4 separate regions of the Homo sapiens genome follow, and all the other regions are linked to region 1. Evidence: promoter capture Hi-C in 16 types of primary human blood cells and fetal thymus (Javierre and others, 2016). All regions are on one chromosome and are shown on one strand. The core of a region is centred on a gene start or on the middle of the fragment in contact, and the rest is flanking DNA. Distances in the headings are between cores, read along the strand shown. Region 1 holds the start of CHD9 (chromodomain helicase DNA binding protein 9). Region 2 overlaps CHD9 (chromodomain helicase DNA binding protein 9). Region 3 overlaps CHD9 (chromodomain helicase DNA binding protein 9). Region 4 overlaps CHD9 (chromodomain helicase DNA binding protein 9).

Region 1 (3,266 bases), core at 383-2,882:
TGGTCAACAAGGGAAACAGCAGAGTATTGTTCTTTTGCACCTGAGCTCAAGAGCAGACTGCCTGGGTTCAAATATGGGACATGCTTCTTATTAATTAATTATATAACTTCGAGCAAGATCATTGGCCTCTCTGAGCCTCAGTTTCCTTGGCTATCAAATGCAGTATTCATAGTTCTACCGTGGAAGTTATGGTCAGGAGTCTAACTTGGCCCTGCACAGAAAGCCTCTAGCATAGGGTGAACCCTTAGTAAACAGTAGCTTTTATTGTGAATAATTCCCAAGGCAACCCGATTTTCACACCCATTTTGCAGATACAAAAACTGAAGCTGAGGATGGTTCAGTGAGTTTCCAAGGTCACAAAGGAAGGGCTGCCTATGGGGGGGAATCTATGCCCATGTTAGTAACACTGCTGTTATATAAACATAAGGGGTCAGCGGGGCGCAGCGGCTCATGCCTATAATCCCAGCACTTTGGGAGGCCGAGGCTGGAGAATGGCTTGAGCCTAGGAGTTTGAGACCATCCTGGGGAATATAGTGAGGCCCTATCTCTATAAAACAAACAAACATAAGGGCTCATTTTTACTAGTTGTAAAAGGGCCCTTTTACTAGTTGTAAAAAAGGCTCGTTATAAGGCCTCTCACTGCCTAATCAGCTAGGTTTGCCAAAATGAGGAAGACAGCTCCAGCCAGTCTCCTGATCTTCTCTGGGATCAGGGTGGGGAGGAACCCCCTTCCTACCCATAAACCCCTAAGAGTCTTCGCTCACATTCCACACTGGTGTCTTTCTGTTCCTTGTCCACTTTCGAGTTCAACCCTTTCAGAACCAGCCCTACTGTGGGGGGTGGGGGATGGTTAGTTTGTTATCTTGGGTTTGACAGTACAAAGGCAGAGGCATTTCCTGCTTAAAAGGCACATGAGAAAGGAGGAGGAGGGCGAACTGGAGGAATAGGAGGAGGAGGGAATCATCAGCATTCTGGGTTAGAACAAACAAATGTCCTCCGTTTTTCTCCAACTCCTTAGATCAAGGGTCCTCAAATTTGGCTGCCAGCTGGAATCTCTTGCAAACATTTTAATACCCAGATGTCCAGTCCCCCACCCAGACCAATCACATCTGAGTCTCTGGGGGGGGGCGGGGGTGGAACTAGGGCATCGGTATTTTTTTAATGCTTCCCAAGCAACGCCAACGGGCAGACAAGTTTAAGAAGTGGTGCTCTGGACCTTATCAGCACTCGGCTGCCACCCTGGAGTGGCTCTGGGCGACAGTGGCTGCTTTCCGCTTCGAGGACGCCCGGCTTGGGGATTCGGGCATGCTCTGGGAGGCGAGGGCTGGGGAGGATGCGAGCGTGCCAGCGACCTGGTGCTCTGCCTTGCTCTAGGCCCAGCTCCGAGGCTGCGGGTCTCTGGGTCCCCCCCACGGCTACAACACGTGCTGCCGCCCCGACTCCTCCGGTTATCTCTGCAGACCGCAAGCGGTGCCCAGCGGCCGCCCCGCTGTCCACCCCGACCTCAGAGGCTCCAGGGAGACGCCCGGGGCTCAGGAATCCTACCTTGGCTGCCGGCGCTGCCCTCCAGTCCCCGGAATCCTGGGACTCAGGTTCGAGCTGTCGCTGTCGCTGTCGCTGCGCCTGTGAAGCGCCCACTAGAGCGCAGGCGCCACCTAGTGGGCGCGGGGCGGCTGCGCAGGGACCGCGCTGGCAGGCGGGAGCGCAGTCCAGGGCGGAAATGCAGCCAGGGCTTCTTCCCACGTGGGCGGTTTTCCAGCGCGCCGCCAGCCCTGTGGCCAGATCCGGCCTGGGGCGGGACCACCTTCACCCGCTGCGGGGCACTGGGATCTAAACTTGGTGAACTTTCTCTTGGGGCACGGAGGGACCCCTCGGCCTGGTATCCATCCTCCGGTTTTCCGGGCTGAGCACAAGGATCTTTCCCTTCATCCAGCAGCTTTCAGTGCACCCCACCTTTGGCACTGCTTCTCTTTTAAATGTGCTGGGACCATCCGAGGCTGGGGTTCTCTCCAACCCAGGGAGGCCCTTCGCCTATCAGCAACCATTTTTTCCTGCCACCCCCTAAACCGTCCCTGAATGAGAGAAACAGCCTGCTCTGCTGGCTTGCTCTACAGAGGCCAGGACTGGTGGAGGATGGGTGTGTGCCAGCGACCTCGTGCTCTGCTCTGCTGGAAGGCCTTCTCTGAGCAGTGGAAGGGGAAGGGGCGGCTTAAGGGAATTGTGTTTTTTGTTTTTTGTTTTGTTTTGTTTTGTTTTTGTAGAGACAAGGTCTCTCTATGTTGCCCTGGTGGCTCTTGAACTCCTGGTCTCAAGCGATCCTCTCACCTGCAGCCTCCCAAAGCACTGGGATTACCGGAGTAAACTATGGCTCCCAGCTGCCTGGTATTCTTTCAATGAAGACATGCCAAAACGCTTACAAATATGGTGGACATTTAATGGTTTATATTTCATTTATGTCTTCATTTAACAACGATTAACTGAGCACCTACTATGTGCCACTTTTCTACAATCAAGGGATACAATGAAGAACAAAACACAAAAATCTCTGCTTTTGTTGAATTCACATTTAATGTAACACATGAATACTTTTAACACACCCAACGATCTAATGCAAAGCGATTGAGCTCGTTGTGAGATAAGTAGAGGATTTATTAAAAATATCTATATTTAGGGCCAGGCACCGTAGCTCACGCCTGTAATCCCAGCACTTTGGAAGGCTGAGGCAAGAGGATCGCTTGAGGTCAGGAGTTTGAGACCAGCCTAGCCAACATGGCAAAACCCAGTCTCTACAAAAAATACAAAAATTAGCCGGGCGTGGTGGCAGGAGCCTGTAATCCCAACTACTCCAAGGCTGAGGTGGGAGAATCCCTTGAACCCGGAAGGAGGAGGTTGCAGTGAGCTGAGATCGCACCACTGCACTCCAGCCTGGGTGACAGAGTGAGACTCTGCCTCAAAATCAATCAATCAATCAATCAATCAATCTATGTTTAGGGCGCCAAGGGCAGACATTCCTGGTGATGGATATAAGCATTACAGAGTTCTATGGGAACGTCTTCACGTTTTCTTGTAATCCTGGCAGTTTATCTCTGTGGCAACATTTGGAGATAATGCCTTCAGTGGAAATTTCAGGTGATTTGTGAAAGTTAGGCCTGCAATCCTCCTTTCCCCCTCCCCCCGGCCCCCACTCTGCTCCCCCAGGACGCTCTGTCATTGTTCTAGCCCAGTGTGAGTTTGTGTGTGAGTGTGTGCCTATTTAACCTTTGGAC
Region 2 (3,620 bases), core at 727-3,226, 130 kb before region 1:
AAAACTCCAAGTGTCCATCAAGAGGCATATGAGTAAATTGTGGTGTATCTATAAACTGGAAAGCCAATCAGTCATAAAAAGGAACAAACTACTGCCTTAGACAACATGACTGAATCACAAATGCCTTATGCTGAATAAAAGAAACCAGACTCAAAAGGCTACAAACTGTATGATAACGTTTACATAGCATTCTCAAAAAGGAAAAACTATAGGAGCAAAAAACAAATCAGAGGCTGCCAGCAGTGGTGGTTGAAAGAGGTAGGAAGAAATTTTGAGGGCTGATGTAATTATTCTTTATCTTGATTACTGGTGTAGCTACTTATATGTATATATCTGTCAGTTAGAACTGTTCACTAAAAAGAGTGACTTTTGACTGTGTGTAAATTATAACTCAAAAAAAGAAAGAATGAGAAAGAAATGAACTGATACATGAGAAGACATAAATGTTTAAAATAATATAAATGGTGAAAAAGCCATAAAGAAAAAAGTAGGTACAGCATGATTCCATTTATATGAAATTAAAAACAGGCAAAACTAATCTATAGTGGCAGAAAGTAAATCAGTGATTGCCTGGGGCCAGGGATGGGAGGAAGACTACCTGCAATGGGGCATAAGGAACTTTTTAGGGTTATAAAAACATTTTATATCTTAATTGCGGTAATGATTACCTAATTGTATATATTTGTCAAAAATCATCAGATTACACTTAAAATGGGTACATTTCATTGTATGTAAATTATGCCTCAATAAAATTGATTTTAAAATGTACTTACTAAGTGGACATATGTAACAGGATTAATTTTACCCTGACTTATCTGTTTAATAACTCCTCTTCTTTTATTAGTTTTAATTATTTGACTACAAAGTAAAATTAGATTATATTATACTAATTTCTATAATTTATGCTGGCCTGTTGTTAGTGGCAGATACTCAATTTAGAAAATATTTGCTAATAACCTATTACATAGAGGTACAAAAAACAGACTCTCTGGGAAACACACCAGAGATATGGGGAAAATGGTAAATCAATATAAACTAGAGGGGCAAGGAAGACTTGAAAGTGTTCTCAGAAAATAAGCTAATTTTTATAATGATGAGATAATAAGATATTCAATGGAGGAAGATAAGCATAACCAAAGGCATAACAAGTGAAATAACTGTGTAGAAAAAAATTTCGTAAGTTATATTCCAGGAAATTGTGAGATATTAAAACACTCAGATTCATGTAAAATTCTGAGATGCAGCCTTGTATTTCCTCCTCCTTGGCGCGTCATGATAAAGCTTAACATATTAAAGGCTCATTCTCAGAGTCCACAGAGAACGAGCAGAAAATGAGCTTGAATGGATTGGGTAGCAAAACTATAAAATTTTTGATTCTCAGTGTAGACAAAAACAACTCTTTTATATCTTTCAAAACCCATTTTATTTCTTCTAGTATAAAACGTTTTTAATTGAGAAAGAAATTAGGTTTGTCTCCACCCACCTCTACCATCTGGAAAGAAAGCCATATTGTAAACTGCTATAATCTTACAAATAGAGAGATTTAATCAGTAATTTGCTCTTCAATGGGAAAGGTGATATTAAGAATAATTTGGGGACCAATGTGGACCAGAAGTTTGTTGGTTCTGTTCTAGTTTGGGAGGTAGGGTTGGGGGAAAATCATGGTTCAATGTGACATTTTTAGAATACTCAAAAGTATTTTAAATAAGAGGTTGAGGGATAATAAATGTAATATTAAAGTGTATCCCCATAATATAGATGCAAAAAAACAAGTACAAAAGTACTTAAATGATTACAGGTCACATATACTGTCAACATTAGCTTTCCGTCTATTTTGTTGATCTCAAATATTTGAATAAAATATATCTTCATTTATACCTCCGCTATCATCCTGTAAGACATGGAAAAAATTGCACAGTCTACAAATGCACTAAAGTCTGATAAAAGGCTATAAAAATATTTTGCTAATTGTTCAGTTTAATGCAATTATCCAGGATGACCCATTAAAGCCAAAATACAAACACAGCAAACGCTAGTACAAATCATAAATTCAAACTGCAGAGCAGTATCTTTTGCTAATACAGACACAAATATTTTCAACAAAATAATAGCAAACCTAATCCAGGAAAAAAAAATATATATAATACATATATATATAGAGAGAGAGATACATACCATCGACAAGTAGGATTTATTTTAGGAGTGCAAGGCTAATATCTGAAAATCATATCAACAGAATAAAGAATAAAAACTAAAATGATCACAAATAAAAACTAAATGCGATGAAGAAAAAGAATCTGACAAAGTTTCAACATCTTTTCATGATAAAAACACAAAACAAACTAGGAATAAAAAGAAACCTTTGCAACATAATAAAAGGCATGTATGAAAAACCCACAACTAACATCATACAGTACTTAATGGTGAAAGACTGAATGCTTTTCCCTAAGATCATGAACAAGACAAGGTTATCTACTCTTGTCACTTCTATTCAACACTGTTCTGAAAATTCTAGTCAGGGCAATTAGAAGAGAAAAAGCAATAAAAAACACCTAGATTGGAAAGCAAGAAATAAAATTATCTTTAATCTTTATATTTGGAAGCTACGATCTTTCAAATGAAAAAAAAACCCAAGGAAATCTGCAAATCAAATATCTGATGTCAAGCTTTTTCAATTTAAAAAACCTGATAAGAGATTTGTATCTAAAATATATAAATAACTCCTACAAATCAGTAACAAAAATAAGTAACCCAATTTAAATATGGGCAAAAGATCTGAATAGACATTTCTCTAAAAAAAAGATACAATGCTAGGCACGGTAGCTCACGCCTGTAATCCCAGCACCTTGGGAGGCTGAGGTGGGCAGATCACCTGAGGTCAAGAGTTTGACACCAGCCTTGCCAACAAGATGAAACTAAAAATACAAAAAATTAGCCAGGCGTGGTGGCAAGCACCTGTAATTGCAGCTACTCGGGAGGCTGAGGCAGAAGAACTGCTTGAACCTGGGAGGTGGAGGTTGCAGTGAGCCGAGATGGTACCACTGCACGCCAGCTTCCATCTCAAAAAAAAAAAAAAAAAAAAAAAAAAAAGGTAATGACCAGTAAGCCCATGAAAAAATGCTCAGTATCATTAGCAATCAGGGAAATGCAAATCAAAACCACAACAAGACATTACTTTATACCAAGATGGCTACAATAAAAAAAAGACATAAAAACAGGCATTGGCAAGTATGGAAAAATTGGAACCCTTATACACTACCTGTGGGAATGTAAAATGGTACAGCTGCTCTGGAAAAATATAAAAGTTACCCAAAAGGTCAAACATAAGAAAGAATTATATAATCCAGCAATTCCATTCCTAGGAATATATGCAAGAGAAAAGAAAGCCTGTATGGGAACATTCATAGCAGCATCATTCATAATGGCCAAGAAGTGGAAACAACTGAAATATCCATCACTAATAAATGAATAAAATGTGGTACATATCCATACAATGGAATATTATTTGGCAATTAAAAATGAAGTGCTGTTACATGCTACAACATATATGAACTCTGAAAATATTATGCTAAGAAGCCCATCATAATCACATTATTTCATGACTCCATTTACTTGAAATG
Region 3 (3,467 bases), core at 340-2,839, 190 kb before region 1:
TAATGTTCGTATCACATGATATAAAATTGAGAATACTATACATTTTAAAATGAGGCTAAAGAGTAGGACATTGACAATAAAAATGGAACTAGAAATAAAAATGAAAAATAAAAATGAACTACATAATCTCTAATAATATAAATCAGTATAGACCTTTACTTATCTATATGGGTTAAAATCTATTGAATTAAAATCTGCAAGCCAGGTGCAGTGGCTCATGCCTATAATCCTAGCACTTTGGGAGGCTGAGGTGGAAGAACTGCTTGAGCCCAGGAGTTTGAGATCGGCTTGGGCAACACAGTGAGACCCTGTCTCTACCCAAAATAAATTAGCTGGGTGTGGTAGTGCATGCTTGTAGTCCCAGCTTCCTGGGAGGCTGAGGTGGGAGGATTGCTTGAGCTCAGGAGTTCGAGGTTGCAATGAGCTATGATCACACCACTGCACAACACCCTGGGCAACACAGTGAGACCCTGTCTTCAAAAAAAAAAAAAAAACAAAAAAAAAAACCAACAAAGCAAAAACAAACAAAAAAAAATAAAATAAAAAATCTATAGCTGAAATTTCTGATTCTCTTTTACATTAATATGTTACTATCAGATGGAATCCTAATGGTCTGATAAAATATCCTACGATAATTAGCCTATTATAGCCTAAATACTGATTAGACAATTTTTTTTTTTTTTTTGAGACAGAGTTTCGCTCTGTCGCCCAGGCTGGAGTGCAGAGGCACGATCTCGGCTCACTGCAAGCTCTGCCTCCCAGGTTCACGCCATTCTCCCGCCTCAGCCTCCCGAATAGCTGGGACTACAGGTGCCCGCCATCATGCCCGGCTGATTTTTTGTATTTTTTTTTTTTTTAGTAGAGACGTGGGTTTCACCGTGTAAGCCACGATGGTCTTGATCTCCTGACCTCATGATCCGCCTGCCTCAGGCTCCCAAAGTGCTGGGATTACAGACGTGAGCCACCGCGCCCGGCCTGATTAGACAATATTTAACACTATCTTATTGTGATGTACCAATAAACAAAACAAAACAAAAAACCCACATTGAAACAAATCAGAAAAAATTAAAGCATGAACAAATTTTATATAGTATATAATAAGAATAAAAGTCCCACAACTTAAGGCTCTAATTATAACAATGAAATAGATCCAAAGTTCTTGAATCACTTTTTTCAATTTTGAAGATGACTGTTGTAAATATATATCTATTTAAAGTTTCATCCACAAGGTTTATTAATCAAGTAAAATGTACATTTTTAAACCCATTCCTGGGTAAACAAATATTTATTTGCAAGCTTTTCTTAATTGGACTCCTCAGGCACATCTAATATTGCAACATATGCAGGTTAGGAAAATATAACACATAATCCTAAACAATCTTTACTTATAAATTTGAATGCATTATTCTAATCTAGCAAAGAGAAAGATATGAGTAAAGTTCATTTACATTACAGTGCTGCACAAATCTTAATAGCATATACTTAGCATAATTCACAGTAAATTCAGTATGCTTTACCTTTTATGTATGAGATAGTCCTCCAGAATGTCAAGGCAACGAACCATTTGAGAGAAGATGAGCACTTTATGACCTCCGGCTTTCATTTTGGGAAGCAATTTATCAATAAGGACCAATTTACCAGCAGACTGGATCATTGCTTGAAGATGAAAATCAGAAGCAGCTGGATTGTAAGTATCTCTAAATTCTCCAAGTATTTTCTCCTCAGCACCTGTCAAAGAAATAGGAGAAGATAACAGCAATGTGCAAATGCAGGAAATTCCCAATTGCTTTCCTTTTAATCACAATTAGTGCTCCTGTGTGCTTCTGTAACATAATTTTCTAATGGCATGTACATTGCTTTTATTAGAATTATTTAAGCTTGTTGCTGAACCTCCACCAATACCAGACTGTAATTCCATTGAGGACACAGACAAGGTCTTAAACATCTTTTTGTCTCCTCAGATACCTGGCATAATGCCTTTTATAAATTTATGTTTGCCAAATGTTTAATGAATGTTATTAGGGAAAAAATAAAACTGTGGTCCTAACTCAGTTGAGTAAACACATATATTTTTAAATATCTAATATTTAAACAGCAATCATAACAGTGGTCATCACTGAAGGATGATCATAGTTGATCTGGATGTGTCTATGGGCATCTTGTTAGCCATCAAAACAAGGAAACAAGAAAAAATTAAGGCTAGGTGCAGTGGCTCGTGCCTGTAATTTCAGCACTTTGGGAGGCCAAGGCAGAAGGATTTCCTGAGGCCAGGAGTTTGAGACCAGCCTGAGCAATATAACAAGACCCCATCTCTACCAAAAAGAAAAAAAAAAGAAATCAGCTGGGTATGGTGGTGCATATGCCTAGTTCTAGTTACTAAGGAGGCTGAGGCAGAAGGGTCAGTTTCCAGGAGCTTGAGGCTACTGTGAGCTATGAACACACCTCTGTACTCCAGCCTGGGTGATAGAATGACACTGTATCTTAAAACAAAAACAAAAACAAACAACAACAACAAAAAAACACAGAAAAAGAAAGAAAGAAGAGAATAAATTAAAATGAAAGCCATGTTACAGGTGCTTGATGCATACTTCCTTCGGATAATCCAAATCAGAATTAAAGAGGCTCTCTGTATTCCTTTCCTCAGCCTGTCTAGCCATAAGAGAGTACTGTAACTACAAGAGACTTCAGTTGTCTTGAATAAAGTGAGTAGAGAGGCGTATATTCCCAAGAATAAGTGAAAAACCCAAACATTGTACAGAGAGAACACTGGGAAAGAACCTGATAAGATCTTAAAAAGTAACATTATTACAGCACAAGAATTGAAACACTAACTGATGTATCTTGACTGGAAGGAAACCAGGAAAAAAATGGCAATGCAGAAGCCCCAAAAATGGGCTTTGCTGTCTTTGCCTATGAGGAGGATTAAACAAGAGGACAAATTCTAGTCCAAATTATACTGAACAAACTGCTGCTGTCATAACCTGGTGTGTTAACATCAGTCACTGTAACAAAGCAGTTCACATTGCCTCTGATTCTGTAACACTTGTAATTCCTTAGAATATCACAGTGGAGAGTCATAACAGCCACTACAGCTGTAGTGTGTTCTGTTTATTTATTCATTAGTATTTGTTGCAAGAAAAAACATATTTGTTGTAATCTTTTTTAGCTACCTTTTATAAGATATGGATGATTACAACATTTCCTGAGCTCCATCATGGTATTGACCAAGTTAGGTACATTAGTTTGTCCTGCTCCTTTGGATAAAAAAGAAAAGTTCTTTTCCAAGATAGCCCGGTAGTATTTCTTTTGAATATTAGTAAGTTCTACTTCAATGATGGTTTCTTCTTTAGGTGCCAACTTCTTTTCCACATCTTCTTTTAATCGTCTCAACATCATTGGTTTCAGGATAGCCTGAAGTTTCTGTACCTGAATAAAAAATGATAAAAAGACATATAACATAAGTGAGC
Region 4 (3,414 bases), core at 63-2,562, 210 kb before region 1:
TAAAAGATATTTAGTGGTATCTAAATTTAATTTAACAGAGGTATCTATTTAGTGATAAAGCCTCCATTAAAATAGCTACAACACTATTATCAGCCCTAAGATGCAATAATAGCTTCTTAATATTTGGTATTCAACATTCTAATTAGTTAATAAAGATAATAAAACATTTCCTCTGGGTTATTTGTTTCAATCAGGATCTAAATAAAGCCCCCACAGCACTTTGGGAGGCTGAGGCAGGAGGATCACTTGAGCTCAGGAATTTTGAGACATGCCTGGGCAACAAAGTGAGACTCCACCTCTAAAAAAAAAAAAAAAAAAAAAAATTAGCCAGGTGTGATGGTACACGCCTGTACTCCCAGCTATAGGGGAGGAGGATCACTTGAGCCCAGGAGTTTGAGGCTGCAGTGAGCCGTGTTCACGTCACAACACTCTAGCTTGGGCAACAGAACGAGACCCTGTCACAAAACATAAAAATAAAAATAAAGTCCCCAGACCCCACACTGCAACTGGCTGATAACTTTTCAATCTCTTTTAGGTTATAGCAGGGTTTCAATCTTGGCACTACAATATTTTGAGCAGGATATTTCTTCATTGTGGGGGGCGGGAGACTATCTGTGAACTCCTGGCCTCTACCCACTAGATGCCAGTAACACGCTGAAGGTTGTGATAGTCTGTGGTAGGGGTGGGATTGGGGCAGAAAGTCATCTTTGGCTGTGAATAGATACCTCTCTATTCACTCCTAATCCGATAATTTATTTGTTGAGGAATCCAAGTCTTTTGTTCTGTAGAATTTGTTAAGCTTAGTGCCTTACTTTTTTCTAGTGGAGTTTCAAGAAAGAGTGAAATTACATTTGTGTGATTCTTCCATCTACCTAGAAGTCAGGTCTTCACATTAATTAAACTCACTGTCTCCTATTAAAATAGGCCTACACTGACCACCCTATCTAAAATGGGTGCTTTCTGTTGTTTTCCATCTCAATAGTTTATTTACTTCACAGTAATTACCACAATCTATAACTAATGTACATTCTTACTATGTCTGTCTACCTGGTTAGAATGTAAGGTTCATGAGCTCAGGGATCTTGTCTATCTTGTTTCTTCTTATCTTTTCAACACCTTGCACAAGACACACACCAGCCATTCAACAGATATTTTTTGATTAAGTAGAATAAAATTGTAACAAATTTAAGGGCATAGTAATTCTTTTTATTTTTTACTGGAAATTCAATTATTTTATGCTATAAAATAATTATTTCATGCAAAAAAGAATGTTCTGTTAGGAAGGCTAAGGAGCAAAAAGTACTAGCGTATACCTCTGAGAGGATTGTAAATTGGCATAACCATTTTGGACAGCAAATTAAAGTATAATGAAAATTTAGGCCAGGCATGGTGGCTCATGTCTGTGATCCCAGCACTTCGGGTGGCTGAGGGGGAAGGATTGCTTGAGCTCAGGAGTTCAAGACCAGCCTGGGCAACATGGTAGGACCCTGACTCTGCAATATAAAAAAATTTTTAAAAGCCGGGTGTGGTGCTACATGCTTGTGGTCCCAGCTACTCAGGAGGTTGAGGCAGAAGGATGGCTTAAGCCCAGGAGGTTGAGGCTGCATTGAGCCATGTTTGCATCACTGTACTCTAGCCTGGGGGACAGAGCAAAATCCTGTCTCAAATAATAAACAAAAATTAAAAAGTATTATGAAAATTTAAAATTGCATATCAATGTTTCTCAAACTTTAATATGTACACTAATTCCTATGGATCTTGTTAAAATGCAGATTCTTATTCAGTAAATCTGAGGCCTAAGATTCTGCATTTCTAAGAAGCTTCCAGAAGATGCTGATGCTGCTGACCCAGAGACCACATTTTAGGTTCTAAAGATGTATATAAGCTATACTTTAATAATTCCATTCTTGATATCTACTTTAGTGAAAGATTTATTTATATGCACAAGGAGGAGGGTACATGGATCTTCTCTGAAACTTGTTTTTTAATTGTCTAAAATTGAAACTACCTAAACACCCATCATCAAAGGAGATACTAAATAAATTATGGAATATCCATACTACGGAATACTAAGCAGAACTTAAAAAATGAGATAGATCTATCTGAGCATAGACGGAAAGACCTCTAAGACATTTAGTTGGGTCATCAATTCCAAACAGATACGTATTTGATAACAAAATGTAAAATCCACCAAACTGATAACACTGGCATTTTCTGAAGCTGGAACTTGAATTGGGAGTGAAGGTTAAGGTTCCTTAATATTATTTGTAATGCTTTTATATTTTATAGGAGAATATGTTAAGTATTACTTATATAACTAAAAATAAATTTTAAAAGCAAATGAAACAATGTTCTTACCTAGATGATTCTGTAGCTCTCGTGTCTGTCCATCTTCAGTTGGAGTAATGAGATCCCATATGAAACCTTTAATCTTCTCATCTCCTCGGTAGTGAACAAGGCAATATGCTAAGAGAGCTCGGCAAATTATCTCTACATCGTGTTCATTTAGCTGCCTTTTGAAACGGCCATGAGATAGAATCTCTCTCCATCGGCCCCACCTGGTTAAAAAAGGTATAGTTACATTGATATTGAGTCAAGTTCTAGAGAAAAATATTAACTCATAGATAAAAGGAATGAAAAACTTTAAAAAATTGTCATTTTTGCTAATTAAGTCTTCCCTACCCATGCATAGAATGTAGAGGAATGGTATAGTAATTTCTAGTATATTTTATTCAGTAATGGATAACATCTAATTTGTATTACTGAATATGCGAATTTAAGGACAAGAAGTTTGACTTTAGTGATACTTTGAAAATTTAAATACTTGAGGATAATCTCATCATTCTGCTCTTAAATATATGCTAAAAATAGAGTACTTTAAAAGTAAATTTTAATGATTCTAAGAAGATAAAAAATATACTCAAAACCAGTATATATTTTCTGTAACATTACATACCAGACTACTTAGAGCAAACATTAAAAACAATGTTTTACCCATAAACTAGCAGGTTTTTCTCAACTCTAAAGCATTCAGTTCTTCCATAGCCATTGGAACGGTCACAGGGTCTCCGGAGTTTGGGCTTTTCATCTCCTTCACTTTCAGCTTCAGATAATTCAGCCAATTCATCTTTTGTGGCACTAAAAGGTCTTGTTTGCTTCCTAATTCTTGGAGTGTCAATAACCAAGCTGTTCTGTAAAACAGAACTGCTATTACCTGAAGGTACTTTTATGATTTTGCTTACAACAGTGTTCTACATTTTTACCTTATACAAACAATAATTACAGAAACACAGACAAAAAGAAACAACTAACAATTTCACCAACCTATTCAGTCAACTTAGAATTGCTTATATTCCTTTAGAATTCTTACTACCACACATGTAAAATTTTATGACATTATAGTCATAGGATAAA

Evidence for each region. The method cuts DNA at HindIII sites, captures the fragments that hold promoters and counts their contacts. A CHiCAGO score of 5 or more calls a contact.
Region 2: a contact is called between a fragment that was not itself captured here and the fragment with the promoter of CHD9 in region 1, in 5 of 17 cell types (total B cells, naive B cells, monocytes and 2 more). The highest score is 8.7, in total B cells.
Region 3: a fragment that was not itself captured here is called in contact with the fragment with the promoter of CHD9 in region 1 in 1 of 17 cell types (naive B cells); the score reaches 7.4 in naive B cells.
Region 4: a fragment that was not itself captured here is called in contact with the fragment with the promoter of CHD9 in region 1 in 2 of 17 cell types (total B cells and erythroblasts); the score reaches 6.0 in total B cells.

Annotation. Positions count from the first base shown.
Region 1 is chr16:53,053,357-53,056,622 of GRCh38, reverse strand. It overlaps CHD9 (chromodomain helicase DNA binding protein 9), which reads right to left and starts at 1,632. Exons shown (of 39, transcript NM_001308319.2): 1 at 1,546-1,632. RefSeq lists enhancers at 1,245-1,294, 807-1,338. The HindIII fragment of the contact is 11,983 bases long and covers 1-3,266 here.
Region 2 is chr16:53,188,073-53,191,692 of GRCh38, reverse strand. All of the region lies in intron 2 of CHD9 (chromodomain helicase DNA binding protein 9), which reads right to left. Among named protein-coding and RNA genes, the nearest start is that of CHD9, 130 kb to the right of the region's middle. The HindIII fragment of the contact is 1,385 bases long and covers 1,284-2,668 here.
Region 3 is chr16:53,245,554-53,249,020 of GRCh38, reverse strand. It overlaps CHD9 (chromodomain helicase DNA binding protein 9), which reads right to left. Exons shown (of 39, transcript NM_001308319.2): 15 at 3,171-3,426; 16 at 1,518-1,728. Among named protein-coding and RNA genes, the nearest start is that of RBL2, 190 kb to the left of the region's middle. The HindIII fragment of the contact is 581 bases long and covers 1,299-1,879 here.
Region 4 is chr16:53,267,071-53,270,484 of GRCh38, reverse strand. It overlaps CHD9 (chromodomain helicase DNA binding protein 9), which reads right to left. Exons shown (of 39, transcript NM_001308319.2): 21 at 2,995-3,191; 22 at 2,359-2,558. Among named protein-coding and RNA genes, the nearest start is that of RBL2, 170 kb to the left of the region's middle. The HindIII fragment of the contact is 1,021 bases long and covers 802-1,822 here.